2 separate regions of the Homo sapiens genome follow, and region 1 is linked to region 2. Evidence: promoter capture Hi-C in 16 types of primary human blood cells and fetal thymus (Javierre and others, 2016). All regions are on one chromosome and are shown on one strand. The core of a region is centred on a gene start or on the middle of the fragment in contact, and the rest is flanking DNA. Distances in the headings are between cores, read along the strand shown. Region 1 overlaps NBAS (NBAS subunit of NRZ tethering complex). Region 2 holds the start of RPS7 (ribosomal protein S7).

What was found. The method cuts DNA at HindIII sites, captures the fragments that hold promoters and counts their contacts. A CHiCAGO score of 5 or more calls a contact.
Region 1: a fragment that was not itself captured here is called in contact with the fragment with the promoter of RPS7 in region 2 in 1 of 17 cell types (monocytes); the score reaches 7.3 in monocytes.

The regions. Positions count from the first base shown.
Region 1 is chr2:15,554,944-15,560,471 of GRCh38, reverse strand. It overlaps NBAS (NBAS subunit of NRZ tethering complex), which reads left to right. Exons shown (of 52, transcript NM_015909.4): 2 at 1,838-1,892; 3 at 3,653-3,689. Among named protein-coding and RNA genes, the nearest start is that of NBAS, 3.6 kb to the left of the region's middle. The HindIII fragment of the contact is 1,221 bases long and covers 3,365-4,585 here.
Region 2 is chr2:3,573,229-3,578,291 of GRCh38, reverse strand. It overlaps RPS7 (ribosomal protein S7), which reads right to left and starts at 3,032. Exons shown (of 7, transcript NM_001011.4): 1 at 2,942-3,032; 2 at 2,608-2,700; 3 at 2,404-2,475; 4 at 1,662-1,805; 5 at 518-582. The coding sequence starts at 2,682. LOC124907726 (a long non-coding RNA gene) reads left to right here and starts at 3,183. Exons shown (of 2, transcript XR_007086196.1): 1 at 3,183-4,157. RefSeq lists a silencer at 2,486-2,775 and enhancers at 2,327-2,903, 2,904-3,479. The HindIII fragment of the contact is 5,628 bases long and covers 1-4,372 here.

The DNA of each region.
Region 1 (5,528 bases), core at 2,726-5,225, about 12 Mb before region 2:
ATGCGCTATAGTTAGCGATGTGAGCAAAATGCCACGGAAGTGCAGAGTAAAGAGCTGCTGACTGGGATTGGGATCTCCGCTACAGAAGGGTTATAGAGGTTGATAATTTATGGACTGGATCTTGGGATTATCAGTTGTTTGGTAGTGAAGGCCTCCCGGGTCTGTGATGAAGAGTAGGAACCATGGATCCATGTTTATTTTATTTTATTTTTTATTATTATTATTTTTTGGATCCATGTTTATTTAACAGATATTTATTGAGTGCTTAACACGTGCCAGTTACTGTTTTAGACCCAGAGGAAGCAGCCAGATCGAAAAGAACCTTTATTAAAGATTATGTAGTCCAGCCCATGTGAGTTATCTTACATTTTTTCTGAGTGTTTCTTTGCTGGAGAAACGACTCATTTTTCAGCCCAAAGTTTGTATTTTTTTCCTCTGTAGCCTCCTTCCCACTGCAGTTTGTGCTTATCATGAATAATTTATTTTGTAGACGGGTAGAGATCTGCATATATTACTGTTTAATTTCAAGTACTTAGTTTGTCTTAATGTGAATATTTTTTGGGTTATGCAGCTAGGAAGCTGTTGCTGAGGCAGCTGGTTAGATAAGTTTCCACTCCTTAACACTCATTGGTTAATTGCAGTAATGTTTCAGAATGCTTACCATAAATTGATTCCAAAAAAGTAACCACAGAATTAACTTACTTTGAAACCCTTAGCACTTTGTTTTGTGTTTGTGTGTTGGGGGTGGGGGAGTTCAATTGATTTCTGCATTCTATCGATTTCTGCATTCTGTTGATTTCAGCTGTTGAATTATAAGCTCTTGGAGGGCAGACATCTGATTCATCTTTATATCTCTTCCCAGGGCCAAATTGTGTCTTGCATGAATCCAACAATCAATTCATGTTTATTGAGTGAAATAACTTTTCTGTGTTTTTTAAAAAAATCTGTCTACACTTACTGTATGTCCATTGTGCTTTTCTTGACAGCACTTTAGTGCATCTTATGCAGTGCCTAGCGTCATGAACCTACCCACGGTGTGTTCAGTCTATACTTATGGAATGGAATTATTTAATATAGCAATTACGTATCTGTGTATGTTTTGTTAGTAGCATTGTCTGTATAGATACACAACAGATAGTCAATGAATTGGCCTTGGAGATATGACCACTTTTCCTGTGAGCAAAACTTACAGCCTCAATAGAGTATGCTGAACTGGCAACCAGTATGGTCTTTGGCCTTGACTTCTCTTGTCTTTGGATTGGTTTTTGATTTGGAAACAGTTTCCAGCTTCAATCCTTGTTCTTTCCTGCAAGGTTAGTCCTGACATGTGCCTGTAGCTCTGCTATGCTCACTTTTCTCCTATTGTCCCGCGTCCTGTGTCTACTTTTTTTTTTTTTTTTTTTTTTTTTGAGGCAGGGTCTCACTCTGTCACCCAGGCTGGAGTGCAGTGGCATGATCAGGGCTCACTGTAGCTTCGTAGCTTCAACCTCCTGGGTCACCTCAGCTTCCCAAGTAGCTGGGACTATAGGCATGCACCGCCATGCCTGGCCAATTTTTGTATTTTTTGTAGAGATGAGGTTTTGCCACGTTGCTCAGGCAGGTCTGGAGCTCCTGGGCTCAAGCAGTCAGCCCACCTTGGCATCCCAAAGTGCTGAGATTACAGGCGTGAGCCACTGCACCTGAACATCCAGTCTTTAAGTAGTTTTAAGACACTGCTTCCCTGTGCCCAAAACTCTGAGTATTAGTAAATAAAAATAAGTTTACATATTGTATAAGTAATACTGGTCTAATACTACTAGAAGATTCAAATGTAAGTGTTTTTTGTTTTAAATTCCAGCCTAGAGGCAACCAAAAACATGGTGCATCCTTTATCATCACGAAAGCAATTCGAGGTAAATATAGCTTATTTCTCTACAGTAATGATATGGTTAACAGTTAAAATGTGTTCTTTAGACTTCTGATGTGGAGCCTAATAAAAGTAATGTGTGTTATCTGAGTTTAATTATATATATATTTATATATACACACATATGTATGTATATGTATACATTTGTATATTTACGCATGCACGTTTTTAGCTCTAATGCAGCTTAGAGCTAAAGTATATAGCTTTGGTTTAACCATTATGGATGTATTCTAGAACAGGTGTCCTCAATTCCTGGGCCATGGACTGGTACCAGTCTGTGGTCTGTTAGGAAACAGGCTGCATAGCAGGAGGTGAGCGATGGGTGAGTGAGCATTACCACCTGAGCTCCACTTCCTGTCAGATAAGCGGCAGCATTAGATTATCAGGGAAGTGCAAACCCTATTGTGAACTGCACGTGTGAGGGATCTAGGTTGCATGGAAAAATTGTCTTCCACAAAACCAGTCCCTGGTGCCAAAAAGGTTGGGGGACGCTGTTCTAGAAGGAATGAAGGTCAAAGCCAGTATGAGTCTCAGAAAGTCAGTGGATGTTGAAGGTGAAAATACACTGAGAGACTATTTTAAGAGGTCTATGTGGTGTTTCAGATAGATCTGGTCAGAGATACTCAAATTACAGATTTGATAAGCCAGGGTATTCATTTAACTCCTGACAAATTTTACGTATGAACTAACAAGAGTCTGAGAAAGGATTGAGCACTAGGTTTACTGAGCTGGTGCCATGACGGGTTTACCATATTCATTAATAGAGTCCTTTTATCAGACCAGAAAGGTGCCGTTACTCCTTTATGATTTTAGATAAGAAAACTTGCTCAAGGTCATTCATTTGGAATTTGACTGCATGTCTTTCTGGCTTCAAAGTCCATCCTTATACCAGTGAATTTAAGTTCCTTATAAAGAGAAAATTCATTTTCACAGAAGTTAAGTACTTGAAATTAACTGTAATCTTCTGATTATCCTTTTATCTTCTGATAAAATTACAGTTAATTATAGTTAATTTTATCTTCTGATACAAGAAGCACTAGCATATTCAGTTTTCATAATGACAAATGCTTTTAAATTTTGAGAATTTAGAAAATGTGTACAAATAATAAAAATTCATTGTAGAAAATACAGACACTATAGATAACTACAAATTAGAAAAAAATTTGTCCTCATACCACCTAGAGAGAATCTGTTATTCTTTAGATATTTTTCCATTGATATATACCTAACTGCATACACAGGTACACACATACATGTACATTTAGGATGATAGAAAGCATTGTTTTTTATAGCGTGTTAGAGGTTTTGTTTTCCGTGGGCTTTCCCATTTTAGGTATTACTGTTTTAAAAATCTTTGCTATAAAGTGTAAAATATATCTTGCTTTAATTTTTTATACAAATATTTTGGTTTCTAAGGGGTGATTATTATAACTTCTAGTCCATGGTTTCATGAAAGCTTCTTAGATTAAATTTAACATCTCAAACTGCTTTTATTTCTTGAACAGTTAGGAAATACTTGAAACTTTTGAATAACACACAAACATGGAATTTAATAAGTATATGACCCTGTAAATGTTACAGTGTATATTAGGTTATATTTAGTCTCTCATTTTAAGACTTGAGTTCTTTATTTTTTTTAATGACTCGCTCTGTAGTATATTTTAGATTTCTCATCTATAAATCTAATTTGAAAATGATTCTTAACAGCTGATTTATATTTGGCTTTGCCATTTCTTTTGATTACAGATCGTTTATTATTTTTACGCCAATACATCTGGTACAGGTGAGTCTTCGGTTCTTCAGAGAAACAGTATGAACATCAAATATAAACAATATTGTTCTATATATGATTTGTTTTCATAATTGAATTCTAGATCATGATAAAGTTGCTGACATTCAGGCAAACTCAGTATGAGACATTTCAAACATTTAGGTAGAATCTGACAAGATATCTCAGTAGACTTAGGGTAGTTTTTGTTCCCTTAGTTACTATTAAGAATGTCTCATGACAATTTCTGCTTCCTCTGATGACTATTCTCAGGCTTATCTTGAATGTCCATATGAAGCATCTGTAGCCTGCATATCTTTTAAAATACATTTTTGTTCTTGTCATGTCATCTCACTTGTGGTTAATATTCAACTGCTGTATATCAGAGAAGGTTCTTTAGGTTTCAGTTCTTGTATATTTTTTAATTCCTTGAGTGTTAAGTATATTTGCAGGGATGATGCTAATTTCCAGCTTTAGAAAGAACAAAGAAATTATTATTATGACAAAAAAGTTATAATTCTGCTTTTAGATACATGTGTAGGAATTGTTTTATAGAATTATTTACATAGATTGCTTCTTCGTTGAGGATATCTTGTCGTAAAGTTCCAGAGATAATATAGTTCCATAAAAGAGACCTTTGGCGTTCTCTAGGACTTGCTCCAACGTCTTTCTGCTTTTACTCTATGTATGTGTGTGTGTATGTGCATACATGTATATATGTATGCATATTTACAATTTCTATACTTAATTGTGTCACTTTTTTTGTGGGTGTGGGATATGATAGGATAGAGCAATGAGTAGGAAGAGAGAGTGGAAGGAGAGGATAGGAGTGTGGGAGGTGGGCTGTGTTTTCTGACTTCTCTAGGCGACAGCTTGTTAGTCCTGAACACCCTTGGATGAGGTGTCAAGCTTGTCTTGTTCAGGTTGCTGCTTGATAATTCTTTTTTTTATTTATTGAGAAGGAAGACTCAAAAAGTTAACTCTGCTACAAGCCCTGTCCTCTGTGTGAGAACCTTATGATCAGGCATCAGAAGTAGGTATCTTTTTGTCTCCCTTCCTCCTGAGAAGCCTTTTTCCTTGAATCATTGTACAGGTTGCAAATGCACCATTAAGTGATTCATCTGTCTCATGATATGCTGCTTTCAAAAAGATTATAGTTCAATTTGTGCTCTTGAGTTTATGGTAATTAAACCCAAAGGTTTTGGGGTCAGTATTTGTTTCAAGTGACTTTTTCTTCTTTTTTTAAAAAAGTTCTTTTAATTATGAAATATAAACATACTGAGAATTATTGACAATATAATAAACCTGTATCAGCTAGCTCTTTTTGTTTTTATGCAAAATGTTACATCTCAAGTCCTTTCCCTTTTTCTTTTCCCTTCCCTTCTAGAGGAAATTATCATCCTCATATAGGTAGTATTCACATACATGTTTTGTATCTTCATTATATTTTTGTAACTGTCTTTTGATATTATTTTGTGTTTTAAAAAATGAGCGTAAATGTACTACATGTATATTACTAATTTTTTTTTTTTTTTTAAGAGAGGGTCTTATTGTGTTGGTCAGGCTGGAGTATAGTGGCTATTCACAGGCAAGATCATGGTACACTGTAGCTTTAAACTCCTGTGCTCAAGCAATCCTCCTGCCTTAGCCTCCCGTGTAGCTGCGACTATAGGCACATACCATTGTGCCTGGCCACTAACATTTTGGAATCCTATTTTGTGTTTTCTGATTTCCATAATTTATTTTTTTTCTATTTCATGAAATTATGTTCTTTATTCTTCTTTTCCATCTGTTTTCTTGATTTCTTCGGGTATTAATCCTCTAATTTGCTGTGTCTGCTTACTCACTTATGAT
Region 2 (5,063 bases), core at 1,783-4,282:
GTTCAAGAAGACAACTACCAATATTTGAGTTTATGCCAGATAACCTGTAAGTCAATCAAGTTCATAAATCATTTTCCATCAGCATCTTCAACTGCAGTGATATTTTAACCTGTGATGTTATCACCAAAATCCACCTACATTTTTTTACCTCCAATCCACAGCAAAAATAAAAATCAAAGATAAATCCAAGCCCATGTCAACTGTGTCTAGCATGCTATATCACAGAATTAAAGTAATGATTTCCTTCTCATCATTCCTATCCTGTGCACAAATAATCGGAGGAAATCATCTCATCTTGTGACAGCACTGACCTAGTAGGCAAACAATGGCTACATGAATACATGTATGTTTTACATCTAGAATTCTAAAACGTATCATGTGCAACTATACAGGAAACCAAATGCTGCTACTCAAAAATTCCCACTTGAACATCTGTTTTCATAAACTACAACTTAAACAAATTAAGAGTTGTTAATAAGAGGGGTACACACATTTCTGAAACTACTAAAATACTCACCTCCTGGGACGCTTTTGCTTATTTTTTGTACGGCTTTTTCGAGTTGGCTTAGGCAGAATTCTCCTCTGTAAGGTAAAAATTATCATGTAACAAAATGAAAAAAGACTTTAAATTGACAAAAAGCTGTAACTGCCATACTGCTTTAAAAGCAAGAAGAATGGCAGGGTAAGTTCAAAGTTCGAGAAGGCTAAACAACTTAGACGAACAATTGACTGAGCAAACCCTTCTATGGAGTTACTTCCTGATTCTTGAATAAATCATTCAGAATCCACAGCCTCTACTAATACGCCAGTGGACAAAATCTCCCAGATACGCCTTTCCCCATGCCTATGACCCAGAATACTACTTTTATTCCAGATCAATCCTGGCACTTCATTCCCCATAGACTTCAGTTTGCACCAATCCCCCATCCGAACTGTAACAGGTTTCTTCTTTTTTTGAGATGGAGTCTCGCTCTGTCGCCCAGGCTGAAGTTCAGTGGCGGGATCTCGGCTCACTGCAAGCTCCACCTCCCGGGTTCACGCGATTCTCCTGCCTCAGCCTCCCGAGTAGCTGGGACTACAGGCGCCCACCACCACGCCCAGCTAATTTTTTGTATTTTTTAGTACAGACGGGGTTTCACCGTGTCAGCCAGGATGGTCTCGATCTCCTGACCTCGTGATCCGCCTGCCTCAGCCTCCCAAAGTGCTGGGATTACAGGAGTGAGCCACAGGGCCCGGCCTGTAACAGGTTTCTTAGTTTGATCATCTATGTAAGCAACCCACTAGACTTGTGGAAATTTAAATATGGGAAATCATTTTCATAACTCAAAACACAGCAGTCTGTCACTTTACAGACTTCTTGTTTCGACTCTTAATTAAAGAACGTACTTTATCTTTCTTTTTAAAACTTATTTTTTCTATTTTTTGTAGACAGGGTCTTACCATGTTGCCCAGGCTGGTCTCTACAGTGATCCACCCGCCTCCACCTCCCCGTGCTGGGATTACAGGCCTAAGCCACGGCGCTCTGCCTGTACTTTATCTTTCTACCCAATTGGATTCATAAAAGGATTGTTTTCATGACTCCAACTACCAATGCAGTCTAAATACAAGCAATTTTAGCAAAATTCACAAACAGAAACGTGCTGCAACAGTAGAACAGATACCTGAGCGATAAAGACGACATGCTTCCCACTGAACTTTTTCTCCAATTCGCGTACTAGCCGGACTTGGATTTTCTGGAAAGATTTCAGTTGAGGAACGGGAACAAAGATTATGATAGCTTTCCGACCACCACCAACTTCAATTTCCTAAAGAAAAAAACAAAAATCCACTGTGTTAACTGCTTCAGAAAGTAAACGTTGTGGTCAAATTAGAGGATAAGAAGACCTTATCACTAACACCGTAGCTGCACTACAAACTAATACTAGTTTTGAGTTAATCATAAATGCATCCTTCGGAAATGTTCTCATCTCTCTCCAACCTTCACATTTCCTTATTCCAGGAAGGGAGACTGTTCAGGCCAGGAGGCCAATCACTACCACTTCTGCACCCCCACTTGCGGCAACTCCGGGCTAAGGGTAGAGAGAATCTCATCCTGAGCTCCCCACAGCTCTTTGCCGTATCTATAACTAAGTAAGGGCAAATAAGGTCCGAAATGGGCCCAGGCCCTCCCTACTCCACGTTTCTCCACCGCCCGCATGTGGACAGCTTAAGCCGCAGGGTACCTGCAACCCCACTCCCCGCACCTGGGCGGTATCACTCCCAAACAACACGGCCGAACCTGAGTTCAGGTTAGGCGGCCAGGCGGCAAGTCATCATCAACCGTAACCCAGGTCCAACCCTCTCAGGCACTGCGCGGGGAGACGCGCCGCAACCTCCCTCCCAGCCGAGGGAGCGCCAGCTTACCTTAGCTGCCGTAATATTCAGCTCCCTGAGCTGAGCCTTGAGGTCCGAGTTCATCTCCAGCTCCAGAAGAGCCTAAGAAGCAACGAACAGCAGGACCGACCCTGAGCGCGCGTCCGAGCACCCCGGGCCCAACACACGCGCGGCCGCCTCCCCTCCCGGGCGGGGCGCCTCCCCCCACCCCAGACCCCAGGGAAACCCTCTCACCTGGGAGATGCCGGACTCGAACTCGTCCGGCTTCTCGCCATTGGGCTTCACGATCTTGGCGCTCGAACTGAACATGGCTTTCTCCTGGGAGAACTGAAGGCACAGCGGTCAGCGTTACGCGGCCCGGGCTGCAGGCGCCGCTGGCTCGCCCTCCCGCCCGCACCCCCCGGCCAGGCCCCGCTCGCCCCGCAGAAGCCATCGGAAAGCACAGGGCGGGTAATCGGCTGTATCCCCACCCTGTGAGCAAGGCTCGCCCCTCCAGGGCCTGACTCCAAAAGGCGTTTTCCTCAACCCAAGAAGAAAAGTTCTGTCGGAGAGCAGGCCGCCAACCTACCTTGCCGAGCGCCGGCTTAGGAAGAGACCCAAATCTCGCGAGAGCACGTCAAAATCCGGCGTCCGAAGGCAAGAGGCGGAAACAGCGCGAGGAGGAGGGCGGAAACCGGAACATCACTGAGAAGCGGTAGGAGGCTAGAGAGTCCCAGGAAGCGGCTCTGGGGACGAGTGTCTTGGTAACGCTTTTCCGCCCTAGGATTCGTACTTTGGTGCCGTTTCCGAGCGTTCCGGTACCGGCTCCCAAGGTTCCCGTCTTCAGTGCAGGTTGCAGGCGGGAACCGGCCTCGTCCCAGCCCTGGGCCTGGGAGAGAGAAGGAGGCCGAAGAAAACCAACTTCGGCAACCTCCGGAGACAGGACGTTTAAAAAAGGCTAACTTGGCTGGGCGCTGAGGCTCACGCCTGTAATCCCAGCACTTTGGGAGGCCGAGGCAGGAGGATCACTTGAGCTCAGGAACCAGCCTGGGCAACATGGCGAGACCCCATGTCTACAAAAAAAAAAAAAAAAAAATTAGCCAGTCATGGTGGTGCGCGCCTGCAGTCCCAGCTACCCCGGAGGCCGACGCGGGAGGATCGCTGGAGCCGAAAGGTCGAGGCTGCCGTGAGCCGAGGTTGCACCACTGCACTCCAGCCTGGGCGACAGCGCAAGACCCTGTCTAAAAATAAATTTAAAAAAAATTGCGAGGCCTTCATTCTATGCTAGTACTGTACTAGGTGCTAATTATTAAGTAAAACCGACTGAACTCTTGCCCTCATGGAGCTTACAGTTCAGTGGAGAAGACATTACCTAAAGCAGTATGACTAAATATATAATGACATATTGTAATAACTTACATAACAGTACAATGAGAGGGTGGGGAGGGATTATTTATGCTTTAAGAAGTCGGGAATCCTGGAACGGAATGACATTAGACTGAGACACGGAAGAGCCGCAGGATCTATTGCTGGGGAAGAGCATTCCAGACAGGGAGGAACTCGTGCCGAATGATCCCGCTGTGGACAGGGAATTTAATCTGAGCTTCGGTTTCCTCTTCTGTCAAATGTCATGCAAGAGTTACTTTCAGCCGTGGTCCAGGCACTGTGAAAAATGCAGAAGCCACACTAGGTGCCCTCTCTCAGGATTCCCAACCACCTTTACCAAGCAGAGATGGTATTCATCCCACATTTTTAATGCTAGATATGCTCCCGCCCGGTGCTTCTCTAATAATGTTTTTTAAAAGGTAAGTGACTGTCTCCTTGGAAAATTAAGGATAACTTGAAGTTTCTTCCAGATAGAAAGTAAACTACAGCTGCGTCTACAATCTCATCTGGGCAGTCGTTCTGAGCCCTTTTGTCGAACTAGGTCCATTTCCTTACTCCACATGCACTTTTCGACCTGGCTTTTATCTCTGCTGCTCTATAAAAGTAGTAATCTAAAAGTTCATCCAGTAAAGCTTTTTCTCTGTGAACCTATCACTTGAGAACAAAAAAAATTAAAGTTATTTCTGGTTTCCAGTCCTTTGTTGAATAGGAGTGGTGAGCAAGGACATCCGTGCCTTGTTCTCCATCTTAGGGGAAAACCATTCAGTCTTTCACCATTAAGTATAATATTAGCTCTAGGATTTTGCAGGTATTTTTAATCAAATTCAGGAAGTTCCCTCTGTTTCTATTTCTGAGAGGTTTTTTTAAAATCATGGGCCGGGCACGGTGGCTCACGCCTGTAATCCCAGCACTTTGGGAGGCCGAGGCGGGTGGATCACGAGGTCAGGAGATCGAGACCATCCTGGCTAACACGGTGAAACCCCGTCTCTACTAAAAATACAAAAAATTAGCTGGGCGAGGTGGCGGGCGCCTGTAGTCCCAGCTACTCGGGAGGCTGAGGCAGGAGAATGGCGTGAACCGCCGGGGGCGGAGCCTGCAGTGAGCCGAGATCGAGCCATTGCACTCCAGCCTGGGTGACAGCGAGACTCCATCTCAAAAAAAATATATAAATAAAAAATAAAATAAAATCATGAATGGATGTTGGAGTATGTCAAATGCATTGTTTCTATGAACTAATATGATTATGTGAGTTTTTCTTTTTAGCTGTTAATGTGCTGTTAATATACATAAATGCTTTTCCTTTCTAACTCTTTAGCTTTGAGCCT